Linked DNA regions of Homo sapiens: region 1 is linked to region 2. The links are contacts of gene promoters, found by promoter capture Hi-C in human tissues and cell types (Jung and others, 2019). All regions are on one chromosome and are shown on one strand. The core of a region is centred on a gene start or on the middle of the fragment in contact, and the rest is flanking DNA. Distances in the headings are between cores, read along the strand shown.

Region 1 (5,289 bases), core at 1,242-3,741, 60 kb before region 2:
TATATTTTTTAGAATAGTTTTAGGTTTACAGCAAAAATGAGTGGAAAGTACAGAGGGTTCCCATATACCCCATCTCCACAGAACCTCTCCCATTATTGACATTCAGAACCACAGTGGCACAATTATTACAATCAGTGTTAGTTGTTAAACAAGGAGCTTCATAGTGACCCTCAAATATGCATATGTGACTTGCTGTGTTATTTTTTTTAATGCAAAACTAATTTGGCTTGTTTTAGGTACACAAATCTGACTTTGAAAAGGCCAATTCCAATTCTCATTTTGCTCTTCAACCTAGATATTGACTAATCTAACAAGGCTAAGTGATTGAGCAAAGTTTGAGAGGTAATATCACTGCATTGATTTATATCCAAAATGATAAGATATTTGATCACTTGCTTATTCAGCACCATCTGGGACCTTGCTGCTGTCCTTCGGTTGAGAGAAAGGAAATGCTTCTTTCTAGGCACAAGGTGGTTTCCAGTAACATCTGTCATCCTTATTTCCTTCTATAATCTATTAATAGTACTGCACAAGAACGCAGCTTTCCTTTGCGGATAGCCTTTTGGGATAGCTTCACGCAGTCTTTTGAAATTGCTAACTGCAAGTTGATTTAGATTGAAGCCAGTATATTTGTTCGCTAGGGCTGCTGTAACAAAGTACCATAGACTGGGGGGCTTAAACAACAGAAATTTATTTTCTCACGATTCTGGAGACTAGAAGTTCAAGATCAAGGTGTCATCTGGGTTGGTTTCTTCTCACACTGCTGTCTGTGGGTTGCAGATGGCCTTCCTCTCCTACGTCTTCTTGTGGTCTTTCTTCTGTGTGTCTGTGTCCAAATTTGCCCTTCTCATGGGTGTTTACCCATTATATTGGATTAAGACTCACCCTAGTGACTTCATTTGAGTTATCCTTTTAAAGGCCCAATCTCCAATTACAGTCTAATTCTGAGGTACTGGGGGTTAGGACTTCAACATATGAATCTGGGGGGAAACAATTCAGCCCAGAACATGAGCCGTGGCATTGCTGCAGCCATTAGTGGTGGAGCAGGTGAGTAGGGACTCACTGTCATTGACTTTCTCCAGCATCCAGAGCTGTCTTTGCACCCTTGGAATTGCACCTGCTCTGGTCTTGCTATTGCTGTCCATCGAAGCCACCCTCCTCTGTGACAGACCATGTTGCAGAATCCCTGGCCTCTCCCCTTCTTGAAATGCTGTCCTGGATTTCTGCTGGCTTTGGGAGCATCCTCATGTGCCCTAGGGTAGCAGACACCTGCTGAGGTAGAGGTTAGATGGAAGCTGCATGAAAGGACATGCTGAGTCATCCTCCATGAGAAGGGATCTCCTCAGAGCAGAGTTGTCCGTTCCTGGAAGGGCCTGGTGAAGGAGTCCAGCTTGATCAGGTGGATTTAGAATGGGAAGTGGGGAAGGGCATGTACAGCTGTGTGATCCAGCCTGCAGAGCCAGCCCTTGGGTGAGAGCTCATCACCTTGCATGAGGAAGACAGGGCGTTCTGGGACAGAAAGGAAAAACACCCCATCCCCAGATTCCCAGTCAGGCTGCTCTTTCAGGGTGAGCTGGGGGAGGGTACATCAAGGTCAGGTGTTAGGCAAGGGCAACGAGGCCACCAGAGTAAAGCTATCTGGAGCATGAAGGCAGGCAAGCCTTATGGCCAGGTATGACACAAAGCCCAGGGGCTTAGGAAGGCTCCCCAGGCCTCCCACTAGGGTGGCTTGGGGGAATACTGGCTGGCCAGGGTTATAATCTTAACCAAAGGAGTTGTAGGATTGGTGCTCTCCTGAGAAAGGACAGCGCCACCTGTGGTTGCTAATGGCACTGCTGACTCTGAAGCACCAGGGTTCTTGGAGAATTGAGGACCTTCTTCCATAAGATAAGTGGATGCTTAGCCACTAGTTATAAAATAAAATTGCATGACCCCACTTGCTCCTATGCTTGAGCAGACAAGAAAGAATCCACCCTCCCCTCCTTGACCTGTTTACTTCCTCAGCTTCATTTGTATCATTCTCTTATTTCCTCCCCATTTTAACACACACACACACACACACACACACACACACAGACACGCACATGCTGGTGCAAGATCCCTGAAATGCCTCCCGACCTCATGAATAAATATTTGCAAGTATTTTTCACGGTGCTTTCCTCTCCTTCACCCTTGTAGACTCCCCACTTTCTCTCAGTCCCCGCCAGTAGCCTTCGATGTCTATTGTGACTTTGTCTGTCTTGCCCACTGGATGTGTGGCTAATTTTATGTGTCAACTGGGCTAGGCCACGAGGCTCAGATGTTTGGTCAAACACTAGTTTAGATGTTGCTGTGAAGGTATTTTTTTTTTTTAGATGTGATTAACATTTAAGTGAGCAGAGCTGAGTAAAGCAGATTGCCCTCAAAATATGGGTGGGTCTTATCTTATGGTTTTAGGAGAAAAGACTATGGTCCGCTTAAGGAAGAGGGAATTCTGCCTCCAGACTGCCATGGACTCGAGCTGCAGCATAAATTCTTGTTGGCATTTCCAGCCTGCTGGCCTGCCCTGCAGATTTTGGACTTGCCAGCCTTCACAATTGCATAAGCCAATTCCTTAAAATAAATATCTCTCTTTACATATACAACCTGTATGTATACACCCTATTGCTTCTGTTTTTCTGGAGAACCCTGACTGATTCTGATACAGACTGTGAGCACAACCCCCTTCACTGGGATGGAGACCAGGGCAGAGGGTGCTGTGGAGGGAGGCATGAGCTGTTCTGCAATTCATGAGCAAAGCAGGTGGGCTTTTACAAACATTGCAAATTCTTACTGGATTCCTGACCAAACCAGGATTTATATATAAACGTCTACCAAAATATGGCAGAAAGGTAATATCCAAAGCATTGCTTTGCAAGAATTGCTACATTTTTCTTCCTCCAGGTACATCTTAGTAGATTGTACTTTGAAGATTAAGCTCCTGGAAAAGTATTTAGTGCCTTTCTTATAAAGCATCTGACACATTCTAGGTGTGAAAGAAAAGCTTAATTTCCTAAAAAAAACAAAAAAACGATCCTGTGCAGAGAGCTTGCTCTTCCAAGTCATACAGAGGCTGCACCTAATTTCTTCATTTATCTCTAACATTCTTCCTCCTGCCTTTGAAACTCTTTCGTTTAACATTAGCATTTGATTAACCTTTTATTCAAGAGACATCTGGGTTTTGTTATACACTATTATGTTGATTCTGGCTTGTTTTTATTTCAGATAATTTTCAAGTAGCCACATGTGTTAGGTAGTAAGGTCTTCCTTTATTGCTAGTTTTTGGCAATGGGGCTCCAGGAAGAGCTGTTACTTCATTATCCAAACCTTGTTCATGTGGAGAAAACAAGAACAATCCAGTAATGACAGCAAGATTTTGTTTTCCAGGCAGAGTTATTTGGAGGAATGTCCTGGCCATTTCTGCCTTACATTTATGCATTTTTTTGCAGGCTTTCAAAATTATATTTTGTGTCAATTAAAACTCACATAAAATACAATTTAACTGAAAAAAGCTAAAGGTAACTCTGTAGTTAGGGTTACATGGGATCATCTCAGCAGCTCTGGTGGGGTCTGGTAAGTAACAATTTTTCTTCAAATGTCCTTTGAGGCCACTAGTACTGCCATTAGTACTGACTCATAGGTGGGTCTGTGATGTGCTGGGGCCTGGATGAAGTTGAGTGTGTCCTTAAAATCTGGAGCAAGGAAAATTCCACTATTCCACTCCTAATTCCTTAACAGTAATGGTGGCTCATGATTGCCAAGGCCAGAACCCATCCAGGGTTTGTACATGTTTTGGCACTTCCTCTGAGCTTTGGTCTGAAGGCTACTGCTCTTATGTGGCCAATCTGTCTGCAGTTGCCTGCAGCAGGAGCTCAAAATACAGTCTACTGAAGAATTCAGGGCTAGTGAGAGATTTACAGTGTTAAAAATTATAGGAGGTTGTTGTTTTGGACTAAACTTTTGCACTAGACTTCAACAGACCAGACTAAAGATCAAAATAGAGTCACCCATGCTAAAGTTCTACATCACCAAACCTAAACTATGACATTATCCAGCCTTCTGAGAAATCGGGAGACAGAAATAACAGCCATTTTCCAAGCAGGTCAGTTTTAATTATCAATCGACATGGTAATAAAGTTCCTTCTGCTGTATTCCTTACACAAAATAAGTAGCCTGACATGACTTGATGTTAACTAATCAGTTATTTTTCTATTGTTCTATTTCCCTGTTCCCACCCGACAAGAAAAAGTAACTTTGAAAAATAATGAATACATCCTTTGTTCTTTGTTTCTGCTTTCTTCAACCCTTCTTGAAGCCATCCTCACAGGGTTAAGAAGAATTCTGGACAGAAATATAGTTATAAATAAGAGTAAATAATCAGCCTTCACTTTTACCCACTTCCTTGAACCTGATAGTCACAGAGCACTGATCCTGACCACTGGCATCCCCATTGTTCCTATAGATAAGATCTCTGACATTAAAATCACAAGACTTTTGTTTAAGAATTGCTTAAGGTGTTTTCCAGATCCTGAATTCCAGCAAAACAGTTGTTGCCAACCAGTTTGAAACCCCCCACAGAGTAATGAAATCAGAGTGAGAATATAGTTTCTTTATCTCCCTGTCCCATGACTTCACTCTGTACTCTTCACCCCGTCAACAATCTCCATGCTTCAGCCCACTCCATAACCCTTAAAAACTCTATCCCCAAACTCCTTGGGGAGACAGATTTGATTTTCCCTCCCTCTTCCTCATTTGGTGGCCCTATGGTTAAATCTCTTCTCTGTCACAATCCAGTGTCTTGGCATATTGATTTGCCATGCACATCGGGCAACAAACCTAGTACAATTACATTCTCTGTCTAGAAAGCCAACCTCTTCTGCTAGGCTCATTGGAACACTTATTCTATTTTATGGAATTAAGTGTTGACCAATTCTAAAATTGCTATAAAGCCCAGCGAGATCTTTAAACTAAATTTGTTGTAATTTGTCCTTTGACAATAGCTTGTGCATGTCTGCTCTCCCTCACAAGGAAACAACAGAGAAAATGGATCAGATAACTCCTGCAAAGTAGAGCCAGTGGTGATGGTGGATGGAGTGGACGAAAGCCATTGCCAATAGTGTGCTGTATGTCACAGTTAGCAAAGCATAAGGCACAGTTCCAGATTAGATGTGCCTTGTTAGTGATGGAGCAGTCAGAGTTCATGTATACGGGGCCAAGCCTGGTGCTGCTGAAGACCTGGATGTGACTGCTACTCTTTGACTGTTAGCTCCA
Region 2 (5,564 bases), core at 2,916-5,415:
CATTTCAGCATCTGTCCTCTGTGGATAAAACATAAAACACACCATAATACAATGAAACCCCTAGGATAATATCAGGTTCTTTTTAAACCCTAACTCTCACTTGATTTTTGGTTAATCTTCAACAGGTTGCTTCAATAAATAATTTTTGTTTTCTGTTTCAAATCAATTAAAATTAGTAGCATTTTGAGAATTTTAAGGCACTCTTTGGAATAATGCTTTTGTCATTACTGTAAACTCATTCACTCTCCTAGACTTAAGTATCTTTTCTGATAGACATAGGTCTTTGGGCCAGGGCCAGGTCATGATAAAATAGAAAGCTTTAATCTCCATAACCTTTTCAGAGGTAAAGTTATAGGTGCTTTTATTTCATTTTAGAGAGAAAACAAATGTTTGTTCATGGTCTTATAAGAATCAATCAAATAATTGACAAACAATTAAATATTCATATACAGGCCACCATGCTAGATATGGAGACTATATAAAGATATAGTATGTCATTTCTCCTCTTGGAAGATTTATAGTCTACCTGAAGACATAAATACACGTACCCATTAGCTAATGACATGTTCATGTGTTAATAGAAAATAAATGATAAATATAATAAAAGTAAAAAGAAAAGGGAAAATAGCAGAGCTCTAAAATTGTGTCTCAAGGGAAGAGTTCTTGGCAGTCAGGGAAGGCTTCCTGGAGGCAGCATGATGTAGAAAAGCAATTATTTTTCAGTTAAGCAAATTTGGTTTTAAGTCTGAGTTCTTTTACTTCTCAGATATAAGCAGATACTTAACTTCTCAAGGCCTTAAGGTTTTCATCTGAGAATTACAGCTGATGCCAGTAATTTCTCTCATAGATTTGTGAGCTTAGAATGAGATAATTTAATAAGAAAGCATGTTCTTCTAGCCTCCATTGCTGACCTTTCATATGGATGAATAAATAACCACTGAGAATCTTTTGTGTCTGACACTGAGCCTCGGAGCAGGGAGCAGTAGGGAGTTGGGAAGCATGCTAAGCATCAGAGCAAGGAAGGAGAAGGACATAAGGGCCTCTAAGATGCACAATAACAAATGTTGGCAAAAGTACAAAACAGTATGATGAAAGCAAGATAGGACGGTGTCTGGGAAACCTGGGATAATAAATACAGACAAGGAAGTTTCCTTCAAGGCTGGCAAAACAGTAATGTGCTGGTTACAGGGAGGAAATGAGAAATATAGGAGGTATCATCCCTGAATATTTACCTTTTAAGTAGAAATACAACAACTGAACCCATATTTACTTATATACCTGAAATAATGAGGAAAAGTGATGGCATTTATTAGCTTATGTAGTGCAGTGTTTGCCTATCAGTCGCATAAAAATTTGGAGGAGGGAAAGCTCACTGTGGTCTGTAGCATCAGGAAAGGTTTGAATTTAGGTCTTGAAGAATGGACAAGACATGGATCCAAAAGGAGGTTTATTCTAGGCAGATGTTGCACCAGGCAGTCCCTGTTACTTAAACGTGTAAAAGGGGAAAAAAAATCACTGGATTTGGTTGTGGGGTACTACCTGAGAGGTTATGGAGAAGTAAGGAGAGAGGTCTCTCAGATGGGAACTGCAGGTTTCAGGTTGTGATGCAAAATCAGTGTGCTCCTCTCCAAGAAAGAATGAAGGACAAAGAGGCCTAGTTATCTGATCTCTGATCCTAAGGGCACATTTTCAAAGGGGGCAGCAAAGAGAAGAGAAAACCACTGAGAACAATGGTTTTCAGAAACCTATGGCTCCCTCCCACTCCCCCGCACCCATGAAAAGGTGTGGGGGAGGGGGAGGGAGCCACAGGTTTCTGCAGCAAGATCACACTCAAGAATTAAAATCCCTTTTCAACTTATCTCAATGCCCCACATCCCCTGAAAGCACCTAGCTTGCTTGGGTGGGTACTAAGGAGTAAAGAGCATGGGTTCACTTCTGAAAGATCTGGATTGAAGCCCTTGCCTGTTTTTATCTCGCACCCTTTTCTGAACCAATTTCCTCAACGGGGCCATAGGCTCAATAATGATAGTAGCCTCCTCAGAGATGTTGAGAAGATTAAGTAAAAATCTATGTAAGGACTCCAGCACGTAAGCTTCCGTATAACTAATAATAATCACTATTATATTTTATAATGGCGTTTGGGTCCTGGGTCTTGCCAAGTTTGGGGTGGGGGGGAGTGAAGAAGGAAGGTCGGCTTCTTTATTGTGTTGGTGTCTCTCAAAACAGCCGGCAGGCCACGGGCCAAAACCACAGCGGGGTGCTCCCTCCGCCGGCGCCTTCTTTCCCCTGCTCCACCCACGCTTTCCAGAGCAACAAGTTCCTTTCCGCAAGACCCGCCCGCGCGCCACCGGCGGACCCAGAGCCTCTTCCCAGACCTCTGTCAAACTCGTCGCCAGACCCTTCTGGGGTCGAAATTCCGGTACTGCCTACGCCCTTAGGAGGAGGGAGAGGCCCCCACACCTGGAGGAGCCCTGGCGGTGGCTGGGAGAGAGGCGGGAGGCTTGGGAAGTCAGGACAGAAGAGACTAATAAGAGCTTCGGTCTGCGCGGCCCTTCAAGGCAAAACCAATAACCAAAAGCACCCACCGCTCATCTCACTCCTCTCTCTTCCTGGGATCAGGAGCGAGATGGAGCCTAAAATCTCAGGGACCTCCACCCAGCCCTCTGGTAGCCACATCTCTGTCCTTTGGGTTCCCCTCGCCCCACCTTCTCTCTGCACCCACACTCCACCCCAGCCTGCGCCAGGTCCCCTAAGGACACTGGAGAACCCTGATACATCTTTTGCAGGAGAGACACGCAGGTCAGCCACAGCCCCCACCCAGCGCCCTTCTCTCTGTCCTCCCAGGATGAGTACCCTGGAGTCTCCAAAGGAGATCCAAGGTGTCCAAAGCTGGGAGGCTCACCTATCTGCTCAAACTGTCGAACTCTGGCAACTTCTTGGAATGGGGATCCCCACGCTCTAGTGGGAAAGCCAGGCTGGCCGCCCACGCATCAGGAGAGGACACCTCGACTTCTCCGTAGGGAATCCCCCTCAAAATCCACCTCTCCAGCTCCTGTAGCCGGGAGTTGAGAACTAGGGAGCCAACCAGAAGTGCGCTCCAGGGGTGGGCGGTCGTGGGCGGGGGTGAGGGCGCAGAAGTTCCGCCCCGATTTTAGAGACCAGTTTCTTTCCAAATCTAGAGTCAGGAAGCCGTTGTTCCCGGAGAGGAGCAGGGACCGAAGTCCCTGGGAGGGAAGTCCTCCCGGCGCGGGGTGGGAGAAACACCGAGGTGAATTGCAGTGTCCAAACGTCCAGCCTCGTCTGTAGGAAACTATTCTTTCTCCGGGGGATGGGGGTGGGGGAGACTTCCCTGGCCAAGTAGCCAACGCCAGGCTTAGCTGTTCAGGGCTTCATCCCTCCATCCCCAGGCAGCCTCGAGAACTTGGTACCTCGGACAGCATCCCCGGAGCATGGCATCCTGTGAAAGGTGTTATCCTATTTTCGCCATCAAGTCAAAGAGCAGTAAATTATTTTGATGACCTTACTAGTACAGATGAAGGACATTTTAATTACATAACCGGTGAAAGATCACCGGAGGCAATATCGTGTTAAAGAGCCCATGGCAGAATATCTGCATCGCATGAGAAAGAGAGAAAACTTGCAAATCTGCAATGAGATTGCGCAGGGCTGCCCCCCCGTCCCCCCGTTTTGAAACAACATGCGAAATGCATGGGAGAGCTTACCTTTCGGACTCCAAAGCCGTGTTCTGCTGCAACTTGGCGAGCTTTGTCCTCTCCCCCTTTATGCAACTCCACAAGAAAATGATTCGTGAAGACCGGTCGCTCAGCAGATGCAAAAACCATGACACAGAAGAGGAACCCGGCGGCCGCCTTCCACTGGGAGACACAACCACCCTTCATCCTTCTTTGGGAGTGAAAAGTGGTGCTAGGAGGCGCGCAGGCTGGCGGAGCAGGGGACTCGGAGGGAGGGTGCAAATAAAGAATTCTTATATATAGTTTTTAAAAAAATCTTTGTATAGAGAAAGAGACTGAACAGGGTCTTGGAAAGCAGCGAATCAGTGTGTGTTCTCCAGCATCTGGCTGGAGGGGAAGCCGTGCAGTCAGGCGGCCCGGCGCGCGGGCAGGGGTGCGAATGTGGGGAGCTGTGTGTACCGGAGAGAAAGAGCGAGTGTAGGTCTGTGCTTGATGCTAAATCTGCATTTTCAGCTCCTCCTCAGCTCCAATTCCCTAGGGGCTGGGGGAGAGCACCAGCTCGGGTGACGTGAGTCCGCCAGCGGCCAATGAGGGCGGGGGAAGCGGCGGGCCCCGCCCTGGGCCGCCCCGGGCCCGCCCCCGCCCACCCCCGGCCCGGCCCGGCCCGGCCGCCTCCGCCTTCTGGGGGCGCAGCGCAGCGCAGCGCAGCGCAGCGAGCCCGCGCCCCCGCCCCTTTCAGCACCGGAGAGCTCCCCCATCTCAGCCTGGCCCGCCGCGCGCCCAGGAAAATCCCCCCAGCTGTAATCAGGCCAGCGGCGGCGGAGTGATGTCATTGTTTGTGGGAATCTGTAGGCTCTGGGAAGGGAATTACGGTGTGTGCCGCTCTCAGAGGCCCCGAGGGGAGCAGGGGCGCCGGCCTCTGTGCCTCTTCCTGCTTGTTTCCCGCTGCAAAAACACCTCTCTCTCTCTCTCTCTCTCTTTCTCTCTCTCTCAAACACACACACACACACCCAAGGCATACTTGCCTCCCCTTATCCGAATAACAAAGCAAATATTAACCCTCCTCCCACCACTTTGGGCAAATCCCCGGGGAGGTTTGCTCTCCTTGGCACCAGGAGGGTTGGGGAAAGCACCTTCTAGGGGTGATCCATGGGGGGCGAGAGTGCAAGGACGAGCCCTTGTTTTTTGTAGGCTCCAGGCAGGTCCGGAGCGAAGCGGCTGGGAAGCCCAGCAGGAGACCCGGCTCGCCCCACCCGCGATGGTGACTGGAGGAGGCTCCTCTAGGAGTCCTGGCTGCACCTCCAAGATCTGCCTTCAGGAGAGACGCGGCCGGGGTGGACACGGCGGGAGGTGCATTCTCAGACCTGGGGACGTTCCACTGCACAAGGACAGCGAGGGTGCTAGTTGGGGAACGCATAGCCACCGATCCCAGGCGCCGGGCCAAGTCGCCCGCTGAACGTCTTCTACTGGAGGCGAATTCGGGCGCAGCGACGGGGGGCAGGGGCAACTAAGTTATCCGGTTAAGAAACGTGCACTCGCACTGGACTCTGCTAACTGCTGACGACGGACTCCGCTTCTTGCCTGAGAGGGAGGAAGCACGAACGTTCTGTATGTAACGAAATGAGGACGACTGTTTCAAAGCTACTCAAATATTGTTGTGTTAAAGAGTATTTACACTGATCTCATTGTATCATTTAGCTTCAAAGCTCAAAATTCTGCTTTACTTAGATAAGAGGTAAGAGATCTTTTCTTAGGGGCTTAAGTGCATGCAATTCAGAGAGAGAGGAAGAGACTATTTATACCATCGACACGTTACACACACATTCTCATGTATACACATATTCCTCTCTTTTTATTTTAGCTTGAAGTCCA

The links. The method cuts DNA at HindIII sites, captures the fragments that hold promoters and counts their contacts. A contact is called where the count stands out against the background at its distance.
Region 1: a fragment that was not itself captured here is called in contact with the fragment with the promoter of PCSK2 in region 2 in 2 of the 25 tissues and cell types used here (aorta and spleen).

What each region holds. Positions count from the first base shown.
Region 1 is chr20:17,284,218-17,289,506 of GRCh38, reverse strand. All of the region lies in intron 2 of PCSK2 (proprotein convertase subtilisin/kexin type 2), which reads right to left. The region is part of intron 2 of LOC105372546 (a long non-coding RNA gene); the gene reads left to right. Among named protein-coding and RNA genes, the nearest start is that of PCSK2, 60 kb to the right of the region's middle. The HindIII fragment of the contact is 5,054 bases long and covers 1-5,018 here.
Region 2 is chr20:17,225,641-17,231,204 of GRCh38, reverse strand. PCSK2 (proprotein convertase subtilisin/kexin type 2) reads right to left here and starts at 4,165. Exons shown (of 12, transcript NM_002594.5): 1 at 3,723-4,165. The coding sequence starts at 3,899. The HindIII fragment of the contact is 16,215 bases long and covers 1,206-5,564 here.